Linked DNA regions of Homo sapiens: all the other regions are linked to region 1. Evidence: promoter capture Hi-C in 16 types of primary human blood cells and fetal thymus (Javierre and others, 2016). All regions are on one chromosome and are shown on one strand. Each heading gives the region's core, a stretch centred on a gene start or on the middle of the fragment in contact. The rest is flanking DNA. Distances are from core to core; before and after follow the strand shown.

Region 1 (3,801 bases), core at 498-2,997:
GCCACCAGAAGTGTTAGTAGCGCTTTCTGGAATGGAGTACCAGAAAGCAGGCTGGCTACAACTGTTAATTGTCCAGTTGAAGTAAAGAGAAACATCTCCATAATTACCGAAAATGCTTGTAAGATTTAATTCTCCAATATGACCACACCAAGTTTGCTGACATCCATGTTCACCACAACATGTTTATGCATACACTCTTCCCTGATTATGGTTGTAATCGAGAGACTAATAAGGCCTGTATCTGAACAGAACCATGTTCAAATTAAATGACTGTAAAGTGTTTGAGGATGCGGGCGGGTAATTAAAGACGGTTAAACACGATTATAATCTAATGTAAACAAGACACAAGACCCCCACCCCAGTGAAACACGCCACCATACAGGCTTGCTGCAGTTACACTAGTATCACGTTAACCCGAATCATGAAGTCTTACCTTCAAAACAATTTCATTAAATAACTAGGAATGTGTACAGCACTTGACATCATATAACGTACTATGATACGCAGCAGGAGATATCCACTGCCACATTCTGGGCCCTCACTCCCTGCCCCGCACAGTCTCGATCACTGCTGGGTTCACCCTCTTTTTATTCTATCCACTTACCAAGAAGCACAGCTGTGGCCAGTTGTGGATAAAATATCTATAGGTATAAATGGAGTAGGGTTCGGACAGATCTTTGGTGATCAGTCTCATGATATCGGGCATTTGTAGCTCGGATTCATATCGGACATATCGTATCGTCCGATCCTCCCCAGGCTCAACCTCCCTGCCCGAAGGGCTTCTTAAGCTGCAGTCGGCGGTCAGGGACGAAGACAGCAGCCGCACCTGCTCGTCTTCCTCCTCCTCCTCCTGCTCGGTGCCCTCGGCCAGTCCATTGCGGGCCGCCGCGGGATCGCTCGCCGCCGCTGCCTCCACCGGGCTGGGGACCGCAGTTCTTGCATTACTAGAGAGGGAGTGAGGGGGCCTCTCGCCCGAGTGTACCCCGGCTCCTTTTGTTGCAGTCGCTCTGGGGCCTCCGTCAGGGGTGGCTGTGGTCGCGGCCACCTCTGCTACGCTCAGGACCTTGCTCTTGAGGGAGGCGGCCGCCCGGAGGTGCCGCAGTTCGGGGCTAATCAATCCGTTGAGCTGCTGCTGCTCCTGCGGCGGCTGAGGGCAGCGGAGGCACGGATGCCCCTTGGCCGCCACCGTCGCCGACTCTCCGCCCGCCGGGCTCCTGCTGCCGCCGCCTTCGTGCTCTTCGTCGTCCTCCTCGTCCTCGCTGCAGCAGGCGAGGGCGGCCCCCGCCGGGAAGGGACAGCGGGGCTCGACCGCCGCCGGGGCCGGAGGTGCTGGTGGTGGGAGGAGGCTGCTAGGCCCAGGCGGTACCTCCGCCATCCTAGAAGCGACACAGACCGAGAGGGGAGGCCATGAAACCCGGCCGAGGAGCGCGGAGAACAGGGGGCGACGGATGGGGGGCGGCCGAGGTGGGGGGAACAAAGGCAGAAACCGTCCCTCACGGAGCTGCCCCCCAATTCCCCGCCACCCCCCCGCTCTTCAGCGCCGCCCAGCTGCTCAGCCGGCCACCGTCCCCGTCCGCCCGGGCCCACCCGCCAGCCCTGTCACTCGCGGCCCCTCCTCACGGCTCACCCCGCACGGGTCCCCGCCGCCGCTGCCGCCACTCCTCTTCCTCCGCCACCGCCGCCGCCTCCTTCGCAGCCGCGGCAGCCTCCACAGCCGCCAAGGTTCTCACTCAGCCGCCGTCGCCGTAAAGCGCCTCAGCTGTTAGGCCGGGTAAAGTTTCCTGGGCCTGGCTTTACGACACTTCCCTGCCTGCCGGCTGCCCGGGCCAAGAGAGAGGGGCGTGGAGGGAGGTGACCTGTGGAGGGGCGGGGACAAAGGTGTCTCCTGCGGGCTGCGGGGAAGGCCGCGTGCTAGTGGGTGGGGCTGTGGGGCCGGGAAGTTGCAGAGGGCTTTGGAGTCACAGGCTCCCAAACCCTCTTCCTCGGTTTGGGGGCGCCTCAACCTGCGGTGCTTGCCACGCGGGGCCGGGGAGGGATGGACCGGGCAGGCGCTCCCTGCTTAAAGTCTACCGCGCACTCCGAGCTGTAGCGAATCTCGCCAATTCGGGGCCTGTGGAACAAGCCGTTTACAAGTCACCTAAAAATGCCCTTTTAAAGCTGCACAGCGTTTAATGTTTGCCCTGACCAGGGGCAAGGAGGATGGGGGAGGAGCGATTAAAAATGGAGCAAATCAGAGAAGCCGACCGAAAAAGAAAGGAAGATTTGAGCTGTGAAAATATGGGGATGGCTGTCGAAACGTGGTGGTTTGCAGTGTGAATTAAGTTCAGCTGGCCCTTGCCACTTTGAGGCAAGGGAGTCAGCCCTCTTCCTCTCCCTCCTTACTCTGCTCCTCGCACCCAGTAAAATTGGAGGCAAAAGTGACTGACAGGTGTTGGGCAATTGCTAGCACACCTGGGGAAGGGTTAGAGAGAGGTGGTGAAAGAGAGTGACCAGGGCTAAGAAGCACACTCCTAAACTTGTGACACAAATAGGTTAGGAAGCACTGGTAAACAGGTGGCCTGATCCTCCCAGGGGATCTGCCTATCGAGTGCAAAGGGGATAGAACTTGAGCTTGTGGCTGGGCGCCTTCTGCTCTAGTCCACAATTGACTCCCGGCAGGTCTGAGCTGAGACAGGTAGTGTAACTCACCCGCTCACTGAACAAATTCGGTTTTGTTAAAAACCTGATTTATAGAGCTGGTCTGGTGTGCCGCAGATGGACGTTTTCAATATATAATTCTATGACGGAACACGTTTGCAACTTTTTGCCGTAATCTAAACTCTATGTATAAAGTATTTATTATGCTCGCAGATTCTGTGCCTCTGAAATCCAGACAGAGCACAACTGGGATGGCTTTTCTCTACTCCATTATGCGTAGAGCTTCAGTTGGAAGACTCTAAGGCTGAGGAGTAGAATTATTTGAAAACTTCACTTTCACCGCTGATGGTTGATGCAGGATAAAGGCTGGAGGCCTCAGTTCTAGTCCATGTAGACCTCTCCCGGTGGTCTTTTAGCATTGATTGGTTTGGGCTTTGTCACAGCCTGGTGGCTGGGTTCCACGGCAAGTATCGTGCGAGAAAGTCAATCAGAAGCATATTACCCATTATAACCTAGCCTTAGAAGTCATGTAGTCTCTAGCCAGGTGCGGTGCCTCACGCCTGTAATCCTGGCATTTTGGGAGGCCCAGGCGGGAGGATCTCTTGAGGCCAGGAGTTCGAGACCAGCCTGGCCAACACAGTGAAACCTCATCTCTGCCGAAAAATACAAAAATTAGCCGGGCGTGGTAGCTCATGCCTGTAGTCCCAGCTACTCAGGAGGCTGAGGAGAATCACTTGAACCCGGGAGGCGGAGGTTGCAGTAAGCCGAGATTGCGCCACTGCACTCCAGCCTGGGCAACACAGGGAGACTCCCTCTCATCAAAAAGAAACAAAAAACAAGTTATGTAGTGTCAGTTCTGCTGCATTGTATCTAGGCAGACACAAAATTATATCCAGTTTTGACAGGAGGGGAAATAGACTCTACTCTTGGTGGAGAGAGGCAAGGTTCTCAAAGAGCATATGGGACCAGAAATATTGCTGTGGCCATTTTCAGAATGTATAACTTGCTACAGATACATTGAAAACCTCCTAAACACCTTGATGTGTGGGGGATATAAATGAGATGTATAAGTACAGCGTGATCCCTTTTCTGTCTTTTAAAAAGCACAAAACAAAACCATGTTTCCAAATGTGCATACATTGTTTAAAGATACATGTTTTTCAA
Region 2 (3,801 bases), core at 418-2,917, 3.0 Mb after region 1:
GAAAAAGAAAAACAAAAACAAAACAGAACAAAACCCATACCCTTTTCTCACTCCCTAGTTGAAACCAATTGAAAGATAAAGAAATGGAGTTTTATTATTGTATATCAAATGGAGTATGCAGCTTAAAGCTGTTGCCACGTGGGCTTGCCCCTTGTTCACCCCAGAATTAGACAAATGTATCCACCCAGTCACAGGTGGCCATGGACAGTCTGGGGCTCCTGTGTGCCAGAGAGTGGACCAGAAAGCACCTTCTGCAGGCAGGCAGGTAGATCCCAAGAAAGAAGGAAAGAAAAAGTTGAGATACTGGTGTTCAGTTCCTTCCAAACTCGGGGATCAGATAACTCAATGGGGACAGGTGGAGAAAGAGGCCAGGAGTGAAGGACAGCTGATGTCCCTCCACATGGCAACATAGGGATTAGCAATTGTAAGCACCTAATGCTCTTTCTAGCTCTGAAGCTATATTCTACAACGGTCTTGGTACTAGAAGATCACAGGACGGCTAATTTAGGCTACGGACTTTTTTTTCTTTCTTTCTTTTATCTTGAGATAGGGTTTTGCTCTGTCGCCCAGGCTGGAGGGCAGTGGCGTGATATCCGCTCACTGCAACCTCTGCCTCTTGGGTTCAAGCTATTTGCGTGGCTCAGCCTCCCGAGTAGCTGGGACTACAGGCGTGCACTACCACGCTCAGCTAATGTTTGTATTTTTAGTAGAGACGGGGTTTCACCGTGTTGGCTAGGCTTGTCTCCAACTCCTGGCCTCAAGTGATCCGCCCGCCTTGGCCTCCCAAAGTGTTGGGATTACAGGCGCGAGACACCACCCGGCCCTAGGCTATGGATTTCTGTTGCTTTGGCTCTATCTGAAGTATTATAATCAACTGCACCCAAAGGAAAGGCTTCCAGTAGGTTGTCAAGCCGGGCAGTAGGAAATATGGGTTAGGTGGGGGATCTTCAGCTCCTTGCCTGCATCTGTTTTTTCTTTAAAGCAACTTTGATGATTCATATTTCAAATTTGTGTGGCCCATTCACCAGGTTTATTAATCCTAACAGAGCTGGACGTTTCTGCTTCCCCAGGCCCTGTGATTCTGAACGTCACGGGAAAAGAGCAGCATTGCCAGGTGGCCCTGGGGCATGGTGACAGCGGTGGTGTCGCCCACAAGCCGCGGCGTGGCATTCGTACTCAAGGTTTCCCCAGGCCCTGTGGGCGCAGGTAGCGCCCGGCCACCCTTCGGGGCTGGGGTATCGCGCCCACTCATCGCTGACACTCAAGCTCTTCGGCTCGGTTTCCTCGGTACAACGAGGCTCGGCCCTCTTTGGCTGGGCGGCTGGGAGGCTTATGAGACCCCGCAGGGGACAGGTGACAGCCCACAGCAGGTGCACAGCGAATGTCCGTCTTTCCTTCGTCGGCCACCGACCCTGCTCCTTCGTCTCTCGTGCCCGTGCTGGGCCCGTGCGAGTCACCTCCCCGACCCGCAGAACGGTTACGGCGCCAGTCGCACTGCTACCAGGCTAGGGCTGCCCTCCGGCCCAGGATCGGGTCCCCGGGACCGCTTGCGTCCCTGCCGCCTCGCTCCTCCAAACCCCAGCACGTCCGACTCACCGGCTTCATCGCTGGCCGCCCCACGTCGAGACCAGTGCCGCCTCCCTCTGCAGCGCCGGCGACTCACCGGTGCCCCGGCCGAGCCCGCGCCCCGCAGCTTAGCTCACTGGTTCGTCCTTCTGTGAGGTGGGCGCGGCGTCTTCCAGCAACCAATCAGATCCGCTTCTGGTTTCTTACTCCGCCTTTGGGTGGCCGAAGACTCGGCCTCTAATCGCTGACTGGTTCCTAGAAGACCTTTGAAAGACGCGCGGGAGGCGGGCCCTGTGGGACGTTGATTGGCTGGGAGGGCGCCCTCCTCCCGCCAGTTGGGAGAGTGCAGGGGGCGGAGGCGGGGCGGAAGAGTCAGAAGGCGGCCCTAGCGCTTGGGGGACGCTGGAAAGCTTTGCTTCTTGATGGCAGGATGTCAGCGTGGTCCATACGGTTGGGAGGTGATTTTTTTTTTTTTCTTGAGACGGAGTTCGCTCTTGTTGCCCAGGCTGGAGTGCAATGGCGCGATCTCGGCTCACCGCCACCTCCGCCTCCCGGATTCAAGCGAGTCTCCGCCTCACCCTCCCGAGTAGCTGGGATTACAAGGATGTGCCACCAAGCCTGACTAATTTTTGTATTTTTTGTAGAGACGGGGTTTCTCCATGTTGGTCAGGCTGGTCTCGAACCCGGGTTGGGAGTTTTTGTGTTTGTGACGGAAGTCTTACTATGTTGCCCAGGCTGGCCTCGAACTCCTGTCCTCAAGCAATCCTCCCGCCTTAGCCTCCCTTGTAGCGGCTACGGTAGGGAGTTTTTGTTTCTTTAAGTTGTATTTTTATTTTTTATTTTTTAAGGGCTCAGGGAAGCACTGTATTGGATCGTCACATGAAAAACATCACATAGACTTTGTAATTATATCTAGACATACAAATACTAGGGAAAAAACTAAAAATTTAGAGTATAAACATATTTTATATGCTTGAAGTTTTAGTTTATCGTTCCAGAAACTAGACAAGTTACAGTGTAGATCAATATTCCTGTCCCCCAAATATGAATTAAATTATATTGTGTGAAAGGGAAATTATAAAATGCCAGGTAAGATAGGTCTAAGGGCCAGTGTGTCTACATAATTAGCTGTAATCTTTTAAAAATGTGAGTATTTCTCCGCCTTCTCCAGTCCCCATTTAACTAGCCATGGGAAAGGAAGTCGCCTGGAGCAGATCTGAGAAAAATATGCAGAAATTTCAACCCCTGATTCATGTTGTGAAAGCCAATGGGTATAGAGCTATTAGAAGGAATTCCTTAGTAAAGAAGGTACCACAGTTTGATTTAGAGACTGTATTAGCTAGTCATGGTTGCCCAGAGATAAAGAATGAATAGGATGTGTATATATGGATATAGAAACAGATTTATTTTAAGGAATTGGCTCCTGTGCTTGTGGAAGCTTGGAGAGTCCAAAATCTGATGGGGGGAGGCCAGTGCGCTGGAGACTCAGGAAAGGCTGTACTTCGAGTCCAAAAGCTGTTGTAGAACAAAGAAGAGCCAATATTGCATGTAAAGTCTGAAGGCTGTCTACTGGCAGAATTACCCCTTGCACAGGGCAGGGTCAGCCTTTTGTTGTATTCAGCTCGTCAACTGATTGGATGAGGCCCATCCATATTATGGATGGCAGTCTGCTTTACTCAACGTTTCCCAATTTAATGCAAATCTCATCCAAAAACACTTTCACAGAAACATCCAGAATAATGTTTGTCCAAATAACTGGGCACCATGGCCCAGTCAAGCTGATGCACAAAATTAACCATCCTAGACACCCACAGAGATTTTCCATACTCGGGAAATCCTTTTAGATCTGTGCTGTTCAATATGGTGACCATATTGGCTGATTATCTCAGGCCAAATTAGAAAACAAAATCAAATCAAAGGCCAAATTAGAAAACAAAATTTTTGTGTGAACTCAAGGGCTACTTGGGAAATACTGCTCTCTTTTAATATAGATCTGCTTCCTCAGATGAAGGCCTTAGTAGGGTTAAGGAACAGACCACACCCACCACGTATTTATAGCTATTGTTTTGATATGTAGGTTTCCATTTCATATTAGAAACGGCCATGGTACTGTGTACAAGAGAATGTAGGTGGGTATGCATGTCTAGACGTAGAATCCCGCCTTTGGTCAAATAATGAACCCGTATTTAGGTGCACCTATCGACAGGTGACAACGTGCTAGCAGCCCTCACTCGC
Region 3 (3,801 bases), core at 824-3,323, 2.9 Mb after region 1:
CAAGAAGAACATGTCACATTGCCACTGCCTTCCTCCTCTGTAACTAAAGATGCTTTGAGTCTAACATCTGGATAGATTATACCAACCATTAACGTTTGTTTTTCTTCTGTTTCCATAGAAATGCCTCTTATTAAAAGTCTGTTGCCTTATATTTCAGACAACAGGAGACTATTCACTTAGATTCCAAATGGCATCTAATCTCTTCCTACAATCATTATTAAACTGAGCTTAAGCATTTTATTAGTTATCACTGGGTGCTATTTGGCTTTTAAAATAATTATTTGTTATATTCAATAGGGGTACAGTTGTTAAAGTTTATGTCTTCCAGGCTTCAACTATTCCAAGTCCCTTCAAGTCTGTAGAACAGTCGGTGAGAGATTTCCATGCCCCCCGGGGTTAAGCAGGGATGACAACCCTGTTCAGCAGGAAGTAGCTTTAGAAGATAAGATCTTTGGCCCTTTCTCCTTAAGAATAAGGAAGGTAAAATCTTATAAGGGGAAATGAAAAACAGTAGAAATGGGGCTTGGCTTCAGCTCACCCACACTAGAGCATTTTTTTCATGCATTTCCACTCATGACAAACCCACACCACTACCTTACTGCTAATAGTCCTTTTATTTAAAGAATTCCAATGACTGGCCTTAGGAGATAACCAAGGTTGAGAGTGTCCCACCTTGGAGAGGAATGTTGAACAATTGATTCACAGCCTTGTTGCCGCAAACCAGACCATTGGGTGGCCCATTACTCAAGACAACCCTGGCAAACAGATAATGCTGACCTGCATAAACTACCCCTAATTTGTTGTGCTCTTTTAGGAGAGTCAGTCAGGGAATTCTCTCATTCTCTTATGCTGCCTCCCTTATGCTCCGGCATAAGCTCCAATGAAGCCTTGCCTGGAGAAACTCTTTTGGCCTCAGGTCAATTTGCATTGAGAGACCAAGAACCCATGGTCATAACAAAATGAGGTACTGCCCCAGGCAGTTTGTTTTATTGAAGGTACCTGTTGAATCCTAGAGCCTAAACTTTACTTCTCCCAAACCACTTTCTTCATGCATTCAAAACTGGACTTGTTCCACTAAGTCTGCATCTGGTACAGAGACTTCTTGATGTTTACTTAGGCAGTGGCCCATAAGAGTGCTCATTGAAACACCAATCATCATTCATTCATACTTCAATAAATAACTTGTATGGAGAAAAGAGGCTGGGCATGGTGGCTGACGCCTGTGATCCCAGCGCTTTGGGAGGCACACAGGAAGACTGTTTGTGGCCAGGAGTTCAAGACCAGCTTGGGCAATATAGGGAGACTCTATCTCTACAAAAAAATTTAAAAATTAGCCGGGTGTGTGGTGGCACACGGCTGTAGTCCCAGCTACTGGGGAGGCTGAGGTAGGAGGATTGCTTGAACCCAGGAGTTTGAGGCTGCTGTGAGCTATAATCGTGCTACTGCATTCCAGCCTGGGCAACAGAGCGAGACGAGAGAGAGAGAGAAGAAATGTGTGTGTGTGAGAGAAGAGAGAAGAAATGTGTGTGTGTGTGAGAGAGAAGAAATGTGTGTAAGAGAGAGAGGGAAAGGGGGAGGGAGAGAGAGAGAAAGAGAGAGAGAGAGAGAGAGAGATTGATTAACCAAGTCCTGGAAGGCAGCCGTGGTCAGAAGTGGGGTTCTGGAGAGGGTGGGAGGAAAGGAGGTGTGCCTAGATTTGAGGGAGATCAAATTTGGAAGGTAGGCTGCGGTCAGTACACACATTTACCATTGAAAACATTGATGTCACCATTAACATGCTCTCAGAGCTTGAAGACTGCGAAAAAGGTCCGGAGAACTGGCATGACTTTTAAGTATGCACCTTGGGTTTGTTTCTCACTTGCAGCCAGGCAGAGCGTCCTCCTCTAGAGGGAGCAGGGAAAAGAAAAAAAAAAAAAAAAAAAAAAAAAAAAAAATCAGGCGATCGCATTCTGTCTAATTTTGAGCCGCGCCTTTTGCCGTCCGCCATCACGTGCCGGCCCGCTGAGGCCGCGTTGATAGGTGGGGGCGACTGGGCCAGGCGCCGGGGCAGGAAGGGAGGCGGCCGCCGTGCCATTCTTAAAGGCGCCCGAGTGTAGGCGACAGGCCGCTGACGGCCGGAAGGAAAATGGTGAGTTGCCGCTGGGAGGGCGGGGGCCGGAGGGCTGGGCGAGCCGGCCAGCCGGGTTTTCCCGGTTTCCGGAGCCGGCGGCGGCGGGCAGCGCCCAGGAGGGCTCGGCGGCCGCTTCCGCTCCCAGCAGCTGGCCAGTGCCCATAGCTAGAGTACTTGGCCTCTGCCGCCGCCACCACGCCTCAGGGCAGCATCTTCCAGCTGGGCCCGGGGTGGACCCGCCCAGCGGGCCATGGGACTAGGGTGCGGCCACGAGCAGGGGGGTTGGGGAGGCCCCACGCCAGGTCCTTCTGGTTGGAGGGCTTCAGCTTCTGAGCTGTAGGTTGGAGGGAAAGGGGTCTGCCCCATCGGAGGGCTCCCTCAATTCCTGCTTTCCCTGCCAGGGCCGTGGCCAGGTTCCAGGGGTTGGTGGGCCCCGAGCATCTTCCACCTGGCGGCGTTTTGGGGGAGGACTCGAATTCCGATTGAATTCTCTCGGCCTCACCTTAGCTTCTTTCTCTCTGCTCCTTTCCCTAGCTTCCTACAGAGGATTTCTCCTTATCTTTGCTTTCCTATGGCAGTTGGAAACCTTTCGACCCAAAGCTTTGGCACTGGGCCTTAAAGTAATTGTCAATAACTTTAGTTTTGTTGGTTCTGGGGGCTGTGGCTTCTGTTCTTACATGGGATGGACCCCAAGCATAAAAATAAAGTGGAAAATTAAATAAATCGCCATCAAGGATCTTTTGGATCCATCCCATTAGGTTTTAAAATATGGGTAAATTTCATTAGAAACAACAAAACACTGCTCTCTGTGACCATCCACTCAATTCTCAGCCCACTTTCATCGAATAGATCTTGTCATGGTCACTGAATCGAATGGATTCTTTTCAGTTTTCGTCTTCTCTGACCTTTTAGCTGCATTCCAGAGTGTTATACTCTCTTGTTTTTGAAGCATTCTCTTCCTTCATTCTTCCCCTTTGGCTTCTGGGATACAGAGCTCCTCCTACTTCTCCTATTGGTCCATCTGTTTCCCTTTCAGACTATTCTCCTTTCCCTGGACAATGCTCGAAGGAGTCCCAGGTTTCATCCTAATCCTTCATTTTCCATTCTGTATTCTTCATCCTAAACTATGGCTTCAGTTACCATCTATATTCAGATGACTTGTGAATTTACAGCTCAGAAGACCTTGCTTCTGAGATCCAATCCAGATCTGTATGTACTTTTTTTTCTTTGAGTCGGAGTTTCACTCTTGTGGCCCAGGCTGGAGTGCAATGGCGGGATCTCGGCCCATTGCAACCTCCGCCTCCCAGGTTCAAGCAGTTCTCCTGCCTCAGCCTCCCAAGTAGCTGGGATTACAGGCATGTGCCACCACGCCCGGCTAATTTTGTTTTTTTGTTTGTTTGTTTTGAGATGGAGTCTCGCTCTGTCGCGTTGGTTGGAGTGCAGTGGCGCGATCTCCGCTCACTGCAAGCTCCGCCTCCCTGGTTCACGCCGTTCGTTCTCCCGCCTCAGCCTCCCGAGTAGCTGGGACTACAGGCTCCCGCCACCACACCCGGCTAATTTTGTTTTTGTATTTTTAGTACAGACGGGGTTTCACCGTGTTAGCCAGGATGGTCTCGATCTCCTGACCTCGTGATCCACCTGCCTCGGCCTCCCAAAGTGCTGGGATTACAGGCGTGAGCCACCGCGCCCGG
Region 4 (3,801 bases), core at 364-2,863, 2.9 Mb after region 1:
GGTGGTCACGATGAAGCAGGTAAAGACCACCGCGATGTAGAAAAGCGGCGAGTATTCATAAAGCGTTACCAGAAACACCGCAGCCATCAGGGTCTTGCTCTGGGTAGAGCCCGGCTCCAGCCGCGGAGCCCAGCCCAGCCCGGCTGAGCCCCGCCCGCCCGGCCAGGGTAAAAGCCACTACAGTGCCCCGGAGCGGACAAACTTTGTAGGTCCGCACTTGCCTGGGGTTCTCATGAGCTAGACTTTAGGGCAGCCTCGCGGACAGCGGGAGCTGGCGTGCCAATCACGGCGCCCCCTGCCGGACACGCCACGCCCCTCCCGCTCCCGTCCCGAGCTATTGGCTACGCAGACCTGGGATGGGGGGGGCCCGACTCGCACCGCCCCCGACTCCCAGGATTGGTACCCAGCGGGCGTCTTAAGCGCTGTGGCCCAGTGGTCATTGCTGTTCCGCCGGCAAATTCTAAGTAGACTTTGGGGCCAACTCTGTGCCAGCCTTAGGCAATGTAGGTTTTCTGATGTCAGAGAGAGGCGCAGTCTGAAATCTACGTGCATCGTTTCTAAATCCTGAAACCCTGCCTATTATATCTTAGGCAAATTTGGGAGAGGGTGGAGGAGGAGGAGGAGGAGGGCGGGCATCTTGGATTCTACAAAATGAAATAACCATAAGCACAGTGAAAACACAAAAAAAGGAGTCTCTACCACAAGCAATTTATACGAGACTTGTCAGCCTTTTCAGATTGGACTTAATCATAGAGGAAAATCAGCATTGCTTATCCAAGATTCTCTTAGAAATAAAGCATCCGCTTCCTCCCACATCCCCCTCCTTTTCTCCTCTTCTTGTACTCCTCAAATTAGAATTAGCCAAACATTTGAAACTGTATTTGTTTCCACTTTAAGAATAATTTTTAAAAAACTTTTTAAATCACACAGAAGCTTTTTAAAAATTACTGAAAGTAGCTAAATGGTCACTCCCTTGTCTCAACCCTGTGAGTCAGCTCCATCAAGGTGGCCTCCCTGAAAGTCTTTCATAACAGTTCATTGACACCTCGTTGGTTTGCATTTACTCCTAAAGCCACATCTAGCCACATCAGAGAATGGGGATATGTAGTCTTATTATTCGTGAGCAGCAACACACCCTGGTACAAATCAAGAGTTTTGTTACTGAGGAGGAAAGAGAATGGACATTGGGATAGTTAACTAGTAGCCTCTGTCACACTCCTAAATCACCAGTAAAATTCGTGTTGAGAAAGATGAACTAAGTTTGTCCTATGGCCTCACATATTCCTTGGCAAATGAGCACGTAGTCTCTGGAGCAGCACTGTTTGAGAAGCTTGCTTCTACAACACAATTTTTAATTACTATATATCTGATTTGTGAAAATATATACTTTAATCAGCCCTCAACTGTTGGAGAATTTTTCATTGCTATAAATAACACTGCAATGAACATCCCTACAGCTAAAGTATTTCCTTAGGATAAATTACTAGAGGTGGAACTATGGTTTTAAAAAATGTACATTTTAAAGATTTTGTAAAAACACTGCTCTCCAGAAATGTACCAATTTGTATTCCCAGTTTTTCATCCACAGTTTTGCCATCATTTGATATTGTCACTTAACAAAAATATTGGCCAATCTGAAAGGCTCCCTTCTCCAGCAAGCCTTCCTGGATGCTTCCAAACCCTTGGGGAGATGCCTCTCCCAAAGCACCCAGTATGTAACTGTATGGGAGCCCTCTTATTTCTGGTGTGAGCACCTGCTCACTAGTGTATTTAGCCTGCTAGGAACCCAGCTCTCTGAGCACAGGAATGACACATAATTGATGTTTGTGCCACCGGTACCTAGTATATGTCGGGTAGTCATATTACTGAATTAATAAATAAATGAAATAAGCTTTTCTCCATGAGATTACTTGGAAGCACAAAGTATCTATATTAGAGTTTTTTAAAAAAAAGTTTGACTCTCAGATGAACAGGAAGAATGACTGTTCTTTATTATCTATAACTGATCTAGTTTAGCTTGAAACCCCACCCTAGACCCAGCATGGTGGCTCATGCCTGTAATGCCAGCACTTTGGAAGACCAAGGCCAGCACTTTGGGAGACCAAGGCAGGGAGATGGCTTGAGCCCAGGAATTGAGACCAGCGTCAGCGACATAGTGGGACCCTGTCTCTACAAAAAATTAAAAAATTAACTGGGCGAGGCAGAAGGATTGCTTGAGCAAGGGAGGTTGAGGCTGCAGTGAGCCACGATTGTGCCGCTACACTCCAGCCTGGGTGACACAGCAAGACGCTGTCTCAAAAAAAAAAAAAAAAAAAGCAAAGCAAGAACCTGTCTCAAAAAAGAAGAAAAAGAAAGAAGCCCCACCCTACTATTAGACGGGGTAAAAAGAGAAGACAATGTGAGCTTAAATTTATCAATAAAAAGTATCTTAGGCCGGGCATGGTGGCTCACGTCTGTAATCCCAGCACTTTGAGAGGCTGAGGTGGGCAGATAACTGAGGTCAGGAGTTTGAGACCAGCCTGGCCAACATGGCAAAACCCCATCTCTACTAAAAATACAAAAATTAGCCCAGCATGATGGCGGGCACCTGTAATCCCAGCTACTCAGGAGGCTGAGGCAGGAGAATTGCTTGAACCCGGGAGGTGGAGGTTGCAGTGGGCTGAAATTGTGTCACTGCACTCCAGCCTGGGCGACAGAATAAGATTCCGGCAAAAAAAAAAAAAAAAAAAAAGTATCTTAGACTCTTCAAGTTTAATTGCACCTTTTAGGAAGCTGGTCTCCTTTAGGAAAATGTTTAGTCTCTCCTCTCTCTTCTCTTGATTCTTCCCAAGACAGTATCTGATTGTACAAGGTGTTCATATGACCTGATGGTGGAGGTCAGGAAAATGAGACCTCAGCTCTGCATGACACCTGTAGGTCCTCACTAAGGGGAAGCGGGTTTCATCTGGCTTTTTGTGGTACCAGGCCAGCCCTCACTGCGGAGATCCAGGGTTCCAGCCATTTACCTCTGGTTGTAAAACCCTCATAAGCTATGGCTCCTTAGCTCCACTAGCTCACCAGACTGCTTACCATCTCCAATGTTACTTACTGGGGCAATATGTAAACATGTAGATTCTCACATATGTCACATGCAGGCTACTGAGAAGCAGCAGTTATCTCAGGATGCCCAATCAGGCTACCTCTGCCACTGAATGCCATTGCTCTAGCACCATGGTGAAGGTGGTGTGAAGCAAGCCAAATGTAAGGCCTCTCCTCCTTTCCTAGAGGGAAAGTGGACTACCAGCTCCGATCTCTTCAGTTTCTCCAGTACCCCACCTATTTGTTTTTTAATTTTTTTTTTTTTTTTTTTTTGGAGACAGAGTCTCATTCTGTCGCCCAGGCTGGCGTGCAGTGGAGCAATCTTGGCTCACTGCAACCTCCACCTTCTGGGTTCAAGAGATTCTCCTGCCTCAGCCTCCCGAGTAGCTGGGACTACAGGCACCCGCCATCATGCCTGGCTAATTTTTGTATTTTTAGTAGAAACGGGGTTTCACCACATTGACCAGGCTAGTCTTAAACTACTGACCTCAGTGATCTGCCCGCCTTGGCCTCCCAAAGTGCTGGGATTACAGGCGTGAGCCACTGCACCCAGCCCCAATACCCCACCTATTTGGGTGCTTCCGCTACAACCACCTGCTTCCCTGAGATTCCAGCCTGGAGGGATGTGGGGACAAAACTGTCTTTATTTTATTTTAATTTTTGAGACAGGGTCTTGCTCTTTCACCCAGGCTGGAATACAGTGGCATGATCACAGCTCACTGC
Region 5 (3,801 bases), core at 698-3,197, 2.4 Mb after region 1:
GTGGCTTTACCAACAATTTCATGTGACACAGAAATCAAAGATGATGGTTTGAAAGATGGTGACAAATCAAAGATCTTTGACTGTAGCTGCAAAAAAGCTTTTTAAAAAGAAGGTGAAAGAATCACTTGGGAAAAGGCTGCTTTGGCTCTTGATTCAATAATTAATTTTTTACGAAGGCAGCTATGTTACATTGCCCTGGGGAGTACAGAATGACATCTTTTTTTTTTTAAGTCATATTTCTTAATGAGCAAAAAGCAAATGTTTAAAAAGCAAGTTTATATAAAAGCCTTCTCAAGAAAACAAGTACCCAGATTCTGCCACTATTTGGTCCCAGGTTCTACCACAAATTACAATGACAACAATAACAAAATGAGTGCCCATTATGTCAATTTTCATTACAAAATATTTAAATAACATTTAGTAATACTGACTAAGGCTGAGAAGGTGATTTTAATTCAAAATTTCTACAGGAAACAATTCAAATCCAATAATTAAAAGGATAAGCTTCATTTATCTGGAAATTAATTAGTATCCTCTATGATGTAGGATAACAGCATTATTGCATACGTTAATTATTCATTGAACTACTTATGTCTATGATGCTGACATACATCTAACACCACAACTAATGTAAATACTAAATTGGAATACATTTGATCCTATAAAGAATAATTCAGTATACTACATTAATAATTCACAAATATATTATTATTCTGGTAGTAATTAAGCCTGGGGACTTTCCCTACGAAATTCATGATTCCAAAGTTTACCTGCCATCATGTGCCCAAAAACTCCTTGAAAGCATTCTGATCATAGTCCTTGATATTTGAGTTGGATTCTGTAGAAACACTTAGGCTCCACAAACGGAAGTCACTGGAGAGCAGACAACAGATGAACTCCTTGGAATGTTAAGAAAAAAATCTGAAAACAGGTTTGTTTGTATGGGAAAATATCTGACCTAAAAAACAAATGTTTTCTCATTACAGAAGCAATACAGGTTCATTTTCCAGTAAATATTTTAAAGTATCTCCTTTTTTCATGCTACTGAGCCAGGGCTCATGGGACTTAATTGCAATTTTCTAAAAAAGAATCATTGATTTAGTAGCACTACACCCTCCTTTCCCTTTCTCCCCACTTTTTCCATGCTTTCCTAATTATAGTTTGCTTATGTCACTTTTCCCCACTCTGTACTCTTGTGGACACTAGTTCTGAAAGATGTTAACACATATTCTGGAGAAAAAAAGGTTCTCTTGTCAAATAAGTTTGGGAAATGCTTCTTCTCTCAAAGATTACAGTGCATATTTAGCAAACGTTCCCAGGAGATCCTTCAGTAAAGAAATCTGCATAAACCATAGCTTCCTGTCTTTACTTTGCCATAAATCCTTTTGTGGAAGAAAGTTTGGGGAAACATTAATGGGCTAATCTGTTAACATCAGTGTACATTCCCTAAGCTTATTAGCTAAAGATAAGGAGAGAGGTCTAGGAACCCATCACTGAAGGGGCTAATCTAGAGTGAAGAAAGCAGAAACTACGAGCTGGCAGTACCTGAACTTCTAAAAGCAGAAGGAAGATTAACAGAATTTAAGAAACAGAATATTTAAGATATAATACTGAACCATTTTATGGAATAAATTAGATTGAACAGATTTATTTTTTCTTCCAATCTGTAATTTGTTATGATAAAAACAATATATGCTCATTGTATAATACATGGACCATTCAGAAAAGTTTAAAAAGGAGGGGGAAAAAAGCTATAATTCCATTATTTAAAAGCAAGCAATTTTGACATTTTGGCTTATTTCCTTGAATTCTTTTTTCTTGTGAGACCAATTAAGCATAAAGAGAAAATTTTAAAGTTTTAAAGATCTGTAAAAAATTAACAACCTACACTGTTTTTCACTATACCATATTTGAAAATAAACATGGTGAAGATGAAATAGCATGAGCTGCTGAACTGTCAAATGTGGGCTACAATTCAGACTTTTCCACTCACTAGGTATGTTACCTGGTTTAAAAAAATCTAATTTAGCTTAAGTTCTCCCACTGTAAAATCTGGATAATGCCAGCTACCTCATGTTTTTACTGCCAGGAGTAAAAGGTATGAAAACAACATACACTGAACTTAATGAAAAGAAATATTAACTGCTTCCTAGTATTACTCAGAACTTTTCATGTTAGAAGAAGTACATTTCTAAAAATGAGAGGTGGGAACACTTTTTTTAAAGAACACTATTTTTTTAAGAAAAAGGGGAGGGGAAACAAAGGCTATATGTAAGGCTAGAAAATCTGCACAAAAACGTGCCTCAGAAATCTGAAGTCAAGGAGGCTCTTCCATTTCTGAAATATCACAAAGCACTTTATATTATTCCTGATGTTAAATATATTATTTTTAAAAAGTTTTAAATTCTTTAAAACAAAAAATTGTAGTTTTTTAGAAGCTTAGTAAATAGATTTAAGTAGAAACAGGCAAAGATTTTATAAGATTGTATTATATTTTCTTCACTGCTTTATAACAATTACATATGCTTACATTTAAGGTTGGGTAACAAGTTTTACGTACAAATTAGTAAAAGGTGACTCTACACTTTATGTTTTACTAAATTCTAAGTTTTGTGGCAACAGCTATGATTTGGAGAATCAGTGCGGTAGACTACCTTGGACTAGGTGAAAGACCTGGGTTCTATTTCTAGCTCTGACATTTCGCAGGTGTGTGACTAGATAAAGACTAGATAAATCACAACTTTTCTGTTTTTCTATCTATATAACACTGATTATCTCATCTTGCTGTAGTAAGGATCTAGTGTTAATGTAATACAAGAATCAAATACTGGCTGTCTTTAGCCAGGGGAACTGGATGGCTGGGAGTATGAGTAGGAGGACGACTTTTACTGTATTGCCTTTTATATCATATTAAGTATACATACAGACAAGTACTATTTACCCCAAAATTATTAAATAGGCTAGTAAGTTTCAGGACACATTTGGAAATATAAAAATCTTCACATTTCTAAAGTGCCTTCAATGTTTCTTTTTTCAATACTTTGGTCTCCTTGGCTATTGTTACACTCTTCTAGCCTTACCTTTCACAAGATTAATCATTTTTACACCAAGTACATATTTTACTAGAAAATAATTTTTTAAACTCCTTCCATAAGCCAATACTGATATATCCTCTTAGATAAATCCTGTAAGATCACATGATTTTATATAGGTAATACCATCATTGGTAGAATGGCAATGTACCCATGTTTTCTCACCCAATTGTCCTTGGGAGCAAAAATATTTGTGAGTCTAAGGGTAGTATGAGTGGTTACAACACAGCAAAGCTAACTAACCATCACTGCAATTCAATCTGTGACTTTGGCATCATTTTCAGTCAGTTCATTTAGCCACCCACACCTATGAGATAAGCACTGTTAATGACAAATAACTACATTTGGAAAATTTTTGATACTCCTATCAGTGACACAGCTACACTGATTTCTTTTTAAAAAACTATGTTATTTTAACTAACTAGACAATTTTGCTAATATTTAAGTTACACATCTTTCATTACTGCACTATCATCTTGATCATATTGTTTGAATGTCTATTTCCCTCAGCAAGACCATAAACTCACTGAAGGTATTACAATTTGTAGCCATTTGACTGAAACAAATGGAATTGTGAAAACATGATACTAGCAAAAACAAGAATACATTTTTTAATATTTGAAAAATTTACTGGATAATTATTTAAACAAATCCCACTTTAAACAAAAAACACTAAATACCCACCCAAAGCACCCCTTTAGTAACATGA
Region 6 (3,801 bases), core at 397-2,896, 2.3 Mb after region 1:
GACCATATGAAGGGTAGGAGGAAACTGCAATTGTTCCTCTAATTGCAGAGCCTAAACCATAAATTCAAATTGTACTGCTATCTCTACTGTTAAAACAAGTCAAGAAAGTCTTTTACAGTCTAAGAGAAGTGAATGTAATTATGCAGCATCCACTACAAAGATATTTTGAAAACCTATCATCATGTTAGTACTCAATGGCTGTACAGCAATTATTTTAAAGTACGCTCCCAGGGTCACCTCTTGCTGAAGAATTAACTCCAGGAAGTCGAGTTACAAGTATCACCTACATTTTATAGGAAATAAAGGCAAAGATTTAGGACTGAGTCATCTGTTCAAAATTAGAAAGTAAATAAAAAAATAGACTTTGGTTTTATTTGAAAATCCCTTTCTATTGGGTTATATCCATTAATCTACATTTCAACTTCCAAGCCAATCTATTTTAAAAAGTTACCTCCATTTTGTGTCCAATATCTTACTGTATTAGAATAGTACAGGTAGACTCTTGCACTGCTCATTTCTAGTAGGCCATTAATAAAGAAAAGAAAAACCTTTGTGCTTTCTGTTCTTTCCTTAAATTACAAATGTAAAACTGACTTTTTTCCCCCAAAGTAGAAACAGTAGTTTGCTTGACGAAAAATCTTTTATTCACTTGGGCATTACATTACCTAACATTACACAGGCTATTTTGCTTTTAAACATTGTTTTCCTTGTGTTGTCTCCAGGAATCTCTTATAATTTTGTCTATTTTCCTGTGAAATTTGCTTTACCAAAATGAATGCGTAAGCTGTTTATTGGATTCTGACAATAGCTAAAAGCGACAAGAAATATTTTAATGAAAAGTAAGCGTGAGTTAGATCTTGGCCGGGCACAGTGGCTCATGCCTGTAATCCCAGCACTTTGGGAGGCTGAGGCGGGTGGTCACCTGAGGTCAGGAGTTCGAGACCAGCCTGGCCAATGTAGTGAAACACCATCGCTACTAAAAATACAAAAATTAGCTGGGCGTGGTGGCACACGCCTGTCATCTCAGCTACTTGGGAGCTGAGGTAGGAGAATTGCTGGAACCTGGAAGGCAGAGGTTGCAGTGAACCGAGATTGCGCCATTGCACTCCAGCCTGGGCTGACAACAGCGAGACTCTGTCTCAAAAAAAAAGAGATCTCAAGGTTTTTGTTTCATAGGAAGGAAGCTCTCTATTGCGTGGATCTATAAAATGATCCAAACTTCAGAGACAGGAAGCTGATAACTGGATTTATCTTCTTAATGGCTTTGGCTCATGAATAAATGATAATGGTTTATGTGTTTTTCTTATAAAAAGAAATGGAATTTGTATACCGATAGGAGTCCTACTTGCCACATTTGTTCTACTTATTAAGGGATTTCTAATTACTGAGACATTCTTTATATTATTTATAATAAGAAGTCAAAACTTTAACTGAAAGCCATTCTTTGACCACAGTTGGCCATTAGCTGAAATTCAGGAAATAGCACAGGTTTGATCACCAAATCAATAAATCTAGCCACAGGCTGACTAAAAGCTTCCTTTAATCTTCTTCCTATTAGGTCTTCCTTTAAATTAAACCATTCCCTTCATGAATTATTTAAGTGAATGGCATGGTTATAGAAAGATCACATATAACTCTATACAAAAATGCTAAAGGAACCTTAAAAAGTCCATTCAGCATACTTCAGGAATTATACTATGAATCAAGATGCTGTAGGCTTAGAAAAAAATGGGAGTGGGAGTATGTCCTGTAAAGCTTCAGAGAAAAATAGAAAAGTCAAGTTTATTTCCTGATTAGCCCAGGATGATTCCCAAAGCGCAGTTAAGTGTCTGGTCCAGACTAGCTATTAGCGATTAAGTAGTTTCTTTTCACTGTCAAGGCTTTTCCCTGAGGTAATGCCTAAATTCCTAATTTTAATATTTGATCTTATTTCTCTTAGCTCCATCCTCTCTCACCAATAAGCTCTCCACATTTCCACCATGCTAAATGCTTTCTCAACTCTGGAATTTACACTGTTCAAATCTTCCCTTTGTTCAACAGTTATAAAATTTTAGACAAATTTATACATTCCCACATTGTTCCTCTCAAAATTTACTCATTTATATAGTGCAATCAATATATTGTTTACATTTTATATAGGTTAGTTTCTGAATACTGTATGTTCTTCCAAATGTATCCTTACAAAGACACAGAGGAAGGGGGTAACCTTTCTGAATTCCAATTCCTTAATGTTTTAAAAAAAATTATTACTCTTTTCTTTTCCCTTAAACAATTCCCTTCTCAAGTCTTTATGTATCTACTTTCCAAACTTCTTTTCACTGTAGCAAATACCAAAGGAAAAATAAAAATCATTTCAGAGTCAATGAATCTCCTCCCTGCTCTCATTTATTAGATCAACTACTTCAAGGCTACATATGTGGCAGTACTTTTTAAGTGTTAACAGCTGTTAATACCTTGAAGTTGAAAAAATAAAAAAGCCAGAGAAAACATATCACAAGCAATCAGTTTGAATTATATGAAAAGGTACTTAGATCTTGACTTTCATATAAATACTAATTTTAACACTATAAAAGACAACATAACTATATATCATTTTTCTTTATAAAACTACCCCTTAACAGAATATTTGTAAGCTAGTCATCCCTTAGGTTTTTCTGTACTGATAAAAAGTTATTTTTAAAAGAAAAATATTTAAAATAATTGTTTCACAGAAACAGAAAATCTTATCAAATTCTGATAAAAAACTATAATCATGGGTACTCTTACCACACTATTTTCTTTCACCAAAGATGGATATTTAGGAAGTGGTATATTGGTTAATAAGATAAGCTTCTCAGTGATCTACAAAAGCGCCACAATAAAGATGAGGTAGTATGAGACTTTTCTAACCTTGTAAAAGGTAAATATCGTCTTTAGAAGAGATATTTATCCTGACATTGGTGTTATGATATCCGATATCCTGAGCCTCATCACTGCTAAGAGGTGCCATTTTTGTAGCTACATCTCATTGAGACTAAGACAATCTTGAGATCACTGAGGAAAAAAAAAATGCTAAAAGATAACGGTAATAGAGATTTTCCTTAATTTTGTAATAATTACTAAAAAATTATTTTAAAGCTATTATGGAAAAATGCCATTTTCATGTTAACAGAACTGCAAGATAGGGAAATGCTACTCACATAAAAGCAACAATAATGAAGAAATATTTGTTCTAACTTGGAAGTTTATGAGTCAAATTTCTTTCAATCTAGGTAGAAGCAGTTTCCTAATATAGCTAAACTAGCATCAAGAAATCAGTTACGATATTAAAAATGTCAATGTGTACAAAGGGTTAGACAGCTCACCAGAAGAAAATTGTCTATCTACATTTATTATTCATTGATTCCTTAAAAAAAGAAGATAGGATACCACTCCATTTATTTTTACTAGTTACTTTGGGCTAAAGATGTTTCTAAAAACGTTGCCCTGTTTCTGGGATAGTAAATTTAAAATATCACCCCTTTTGTCCAGTACTGTTCTGTATGGTGTAAGTCATGTAGCTGTCAAAAGGCTTTCTTTTTTTGAAGCCACATTACAGACTAAGTTAATTCTGAAGATAGGGATAATTATTTGGATCTTGTAGATCAAAAACAGTATTAAGCTTCCTGAATACTGAGCTCCATGTTTATTTCTGGAATCTTTATTCAAATTCAACTTAAAATAATGAAAAACTACTTAGGTACTCTTTGGTTACCAGTGGAAATTTGTGGCTGCTAATACATTGTGGAATTTCCCCAAAGTAACAGCTCAGAGTTTCTATAA
Region 7 (3,801 bases), core at 697-3,196, 2.3 Mb after region 1:
ACGGTGATAAAAAAGGACTTGCCTGGGTCAGGTAACCCACGATAGCATGTTTGTCAGAGCAATGTCATCTCACAACAGGAAAAAAAGAAACTGGCCCTGCTCCAGAATGGTCTTATTATTTCACCATCCATTTCATAACTCCACTTTAGGTGAATACTTTCATGGGATATTGAATAACATATCAAAAACAATTTAAAATTTTACAGCTGCATTTTGTCCAATCATAAGGCAAAAAGCAGAAATTCCTTCCAAAAGTAGCACTGCAAAGTATTCATTCATTCATTGCCCTACTGAAATTGGGAGTTCCAAGGAATGCCAGCGAAATCTCCTGTGGGAAAATGGTAAACTCCAAGTTTAATAATGTGACCCTCACTAAATGCGTAGCAGTTAATGATAAAAGTAGAACTATCTTTCATAACAGAAAGTGGGGGAGTGAGGGGAGTAGGGACAGACAGAGAAAGTTCCCTGACTTCATATTATCATATATACGGATAATCTGGTTACCAAGAGTAGCCTAGCCTTAAAAGAAGAGAAAATCACCACAATGGACACCATGTTGCTGAGAGGGTTTGCGGAGGAAGGGTGGTTTCCAGATATCCTTAGTGAATGCAGGTCACATGCAAAGAGGTATCTCAGGCCCTTTTTTCTTCCTTTTTGACAACAAATTTACAGTTAATTAGGCTCTGGACTTGCTCAGAGAAGCCCAGAATTGGGCCTAAAGAATAAAATAACATGAAAAATCTGTGAAACCATGAAAATACATTTTTTAAAAAAAGTTTCCAGGTATAATACACAAAAGCAAACAAGTTTATCTTAAAAAATACCAAGTATCACATCCATAGCCTATTCCTAATTATAATTACTTCTTAAAGCAACATTTGTCTTTGTTTACAAATACAGCAGCAGGTGATAAAACCTAGTATCTCAAACTGATTGCTTACAATTTATAATACAAACATATGTATATGTCTCAAATCACATTTTAGGCAGTTTAACTTAAAATGCATAGACAATTACATACATTAAATTTGTCATTACTGTCAGTGAAAAATCACAATTTCAAGAAGAAAATTACAACAAACTCATAGAGCACACATAAGAAGTCAAGTTCACTTAATGGCAACAAGTCAGTATCTGCTGATCAGTGACAGGCAGTGAAAGTGCCTTTATCCAGGGGTAAAGTGAAGAGGCAAACTATCCTGTTACTTTGCACACTTGAATTGTTGCGCTGATCAACACTACAATCTTGAAAAACATTAAATTCTTAAAAAAAAAAAAAGGCATGCCACATGTCACCCTTTAAGATGCCCAAAGGCTGGTTACAATTTCCACCAGTAGTGATCCTAACACGTTTAGGTAAAACTAATAATGAATGGGTATGCTAACAAATTCTGTAATGTTACTTATAGACTATGAGCCTCTCAAGGACAGGGATTCCCTTATAGCTGGCAAAGAACCTGGATCAAGGACATATTGTCTACTGAATAAATGACTCAGATGTTTTCGACAGCCAGAAGCTTGCCTGCCATTTACAAAATACTGATTATTTTATTGGCAATTTCTGTTTTACTTGGCAGAAATCTGAAAATAAAAAGTGTTTGTCTTCAATACTAAATATTGCTTTATTAAAATCAAAGTCTTCCCTGAACGCCACCTACAACTTTCTATGCATAGTACAATATATCAGTGTGATTTATCTGAATTTAGGCTTATGCTTTTCAAAAACTTGAATGTCTGTGCTTAAGTTTTATTTCCAGGCTTTCTAACCTTGGCATTTGATAAAGCTAGCTTCTATCATTCAGGGTGAGAAAATTGAGACATTGGCACTTATTGTTTAGAAGTGTAGGCAATTGACTGATATTCAACCCAGGCACAGTCTTGACAAAAACTCTGAGTAGAGCTTTTTTCATCTACAGTTTCAAAAGCTGTATATTTGAGAGTACCCCAGGTAGCACTAATTATTTGTGAGGTAATCATGGGCAAATTGATTGGTTTTTTAGAAAATATCCCAATAGTCCATTGTGGTGGTGGGACTGACTGAGGCAAAATATATACTTTTCTCTGCCCTATTACTATTCTCTACTGAAGACAACCAACAGTAAAATGCACAAAACAGTCAGTCCTTGGGTAATTAAAAAATGTATTGTCTATTTCTGAATAATCAATATATTACTTTACACAAAATAGGGCTGAGTCAGAGCTGTAAATGGTGTCTTCAAAAGCATGAAAAGATGAGAAAGTGGCAGGATGGGACAGACAAGCCAAGGTCTTTGAAGTGCTCCACTTGATTCTTGAGAACCGGGTGTGAATGACGACCTAAGGTCTATGTTTTAATTTTTGTCTTTTTGGTTTCAACATTTCAAAACCTAAGCTTCCAACTCCAAGAAACAGCATTCCTGAACACCTCAACTATTTCCATTAGATTTGAAAATTCTTCCTCTGAAGCCCAAATGTCAGCATATTCTATAATCTGTATCCCCCTCAAGACCAAATATACTTGCTAACAAGCAGTCTTTTCCATAAATCAGTTTCAGCCTAGCATGTCTTGTTTTGAAAGCAACATTGTTCCCTTTTAAAAAGAAAAAAAGGTCACGCATGGTGGCTCACGCCTGTAATCTCAGCACTTTGGGAGGCTGAGGCAGGCGGATCACGAGGTCAGGAGTTTCAGACCACCCTGGCCAACATGGTGAAACCCCCGTCTCTACTAAAAATACAAAAATGGGTGTGGTGGCGGGCACCTGTAATCCCAGCTACTTGGGAGGCTGAGGCAGAAGAATCGTTTGAACCTGGAGGCAGAGGTTGCAGCGAGCCAAGATCACGCCATTGCACTCCAGCCTGGGTGACAGGGCAAGACTCTGTCTCCAAAAAAAAAAGAAAAAAGGAAAAAAGCCTTTCTTGATGCTGTTCCCCATTTCTCCACTAAAACGCCTGCTTTTCTTAACTCCACACCGAACCAACCTGAAATATTTTGGCCCAGAATGCCAACAAGAATTGAAGAAAAGATGCTTTACAAAAATAACAATATAAAAGCAAATTATATTATCCCTTTTATCTCCATTCTTACATTAAAAAAAAAAAAAAAAATCGGCCGGACGTGGTGGCTCACGCCTGTAATCCCAGCACTTTGGGAAGCCAAGGCGGGCAGATCACGAGGTCAGGAGATCGAGACCATCCTGGCTAACACAGTGAAACCCCATCTCTACTAAAAAAAAAAAAAAAAAAAAATTAGCCGGGCATGGTGGCGGGCACCTGTAGTCCCAGCTGCTTGGGAGGCTGAGGCAGGAGAATGGTGTGAACCTGGGAGATGGAGCTTGCAGTGAACCAAGATAGCACCACTGCACTCCAGCATGGGCGACAGAGCGAGACTCCGTCTCAAAAAAAAAAAAAAATCTCCCCCAAATACCAGTTGCAAAGTCCTTGAAAACAAAGGGAGTACAATAGCAGTATGATTTAGGGCACACTGGACAGTATGGGTCACTAGCAAAATTATTATACTTATAGGGAGTAATAATCCCAAATTGTGTTCATGGCCCTTCAAATCCTTTAGCAACAGATTTTCTCCCAAAATCAATGGACTTCATAATTATAGATTCCCAAACCTGCTATCTCTTCTTCCTACTCAAATTATATTTGCTCCAGTGTTAAACTAAATACTGCTAATTTGTCAGCTTATCCCAATGTAGGACAGCCAAAATAACTGTAAGGAGAGCTATCTTTGCAGCCATCTCACTTTTCACATTACTTTATCCCTCCATGGTTAACTGACATTTTGATATTGATAATTCAAGCCAAGGCTACCTG

The links. Contacts are between HindIII fragments. The CHiCAGO score rates a contact against its expected background, and 5 or more counts as called.
Region 2: a contact is called between the fragment with the promoter of CDKN3 here and the fragment with the promoter of NAA30 in region 1, in 6 of 17 cell types (activated CD4 T cells, naive CD4 T cells, fetal thymus and 3 more). The highest score is 6.8, in activated CD4 T cells.
Region 3: the fragment with the promoter of GMFB here is called in contact with the fragment with the promoter of NAA30 in region 1 in 1 of 17 cell types (non-activated CD4 T cells); the score reaches 6.9 in non-activated CD4 T cells.
Region 4: a contact is called between a fragment that was not itself captured here and the fragment with the promoter of NAA30 in region 1, in 1 of 17 cell types (non-activated CD4 T cells). The highest score is 5.1, in non-activated CD4 T cells.
Region 5: a fragment that was not itself captured here is called in contact with the fragment with the promoter of NAA30 in region 1 in 1 of 17 cell types (fetal thymus); the score reaches 8.1 in fetal thymus.
Region 6: a fragment that was not itself captured here is called in contact with the fragment with the promoter of NAA30 in region 1 in 2 of 17 cell types (fetal thymus and non-activated CD4 T cells); the score reaches 8.1 in fetal thymus.
Region 7: a contact is called between a fragment that was not itself captured here and the fragment with the promoter of NAA30 in region 1, in 1 of 17 cell types (fetal thymus). The highest score is 7.3, in fetal thymus.

The regions. Positions count from the first base shown.
Region 1 is chr14:57,388,532-57,392,332 of GRCh38, reverse strand. NAA30 (N-alpha-acetyltransferase 30, NatC catalytic subunit) reads right to left here and starts at 1,747. Exons shown (of 5, transcript NM_001011713.3): 1 at 1,628-1,747; 2 at 605-1,376. The coding sequence starts at 1,375. RefSeq lists silencers at 1,220-1,369, 1,500-1,639 and an enhancer at 768-1,763. The HindIII fragment of the contact is 6,905 bases long and covers 1-3,801 here.
Region 2 is chr14:54,394,873-54,398,673 of GRCh38, reverse strand. CDKN3 (cyclin dependent kinase inhibitor 3) reads right to left here and starts at 1,667. Exons shown (of 8, transcript NM_005192.4): 1 at 1,597-1,667. The coding sequence starts at 1,605. The HindIII fragment of the contact is 7,211 bases long and covers 1-1,978 here.
Region 3 is chr14:54,487,252-54,491,052 of GRCh38, reverse strand. It overlaps GMFB (glia maturation factor beta), which reads left to right and starts at 2,073. Exons shown (of 7, transcript NM_004124.3): 1 at 2,073-2,128. The coding sequence starts at 2,126. RefSeq lists a silencer at 1,991-2,390. The HindIII fragment of the contact is 2,730 bases long and covers 1-2,712 here.
Region 4 is chr14:54,506,246-54,510,046 of GRCh38, reverse strand. CGRRF1 (cell growth regulator with ring finger domain 1) reads right to left here and starts at 141. Exons shown (of 6, transcript NM_006568.3): 1 at 1-141. The coding sequence starts at 87. RefSeq lists silencers at 66-251, 51-480. The HindIII fragment of the contact is 561 bases long and covers 1,333-1,893 here.
Region 5 is chr14:55,028,961-55,032,761 of GRCh38, reverse strand. It overlaps SOCS4 (suppressor of cytokine signaling 4), which reads right to left. Exons shown (of 3, transcript NM_199421.2): 2 at 771-899. Among named protein-coding and RNA genes, the nearest start is that of SOCS4, 3.6 kb to the right of the region's middle. The HindIII fragment of the contact is 987 bases long and covers 1,454-2,440 here.
Region 6 is chr14:55,045,278-55,049,078 of GRCh38, reverse strand. SOCS4 (suppressor of cytokine signaling 4) reads right to left here. Exons shown (of 3, transcript NM_199421.2): 3 at 1-3,801. Among named protein-coding and RNA genes, the nearest start is that of MAPK1IP1L, 4.5 kb to the left of the region's middle. The HindIII fragment of the contact is 222 bases long and covers 1,536-1,757 here.
Region 7 is chr14:55,066,489-55,070,289 of GRCh38, reverse strand. MAPK1IP1L (mitogen-activated protein kinase 1 interacting protein 1 like) reads right to left here. Exons shown (of 4, transcript NM_144578.4): 4 at 96-3,801. Among named protein-coding and RNA genes, the nearest start is that of MAPK1IP1L, 17 kb to the right of the region's middle. The HindIII fragment of the contact is 854 bases long and covers 1,520-2,373 here.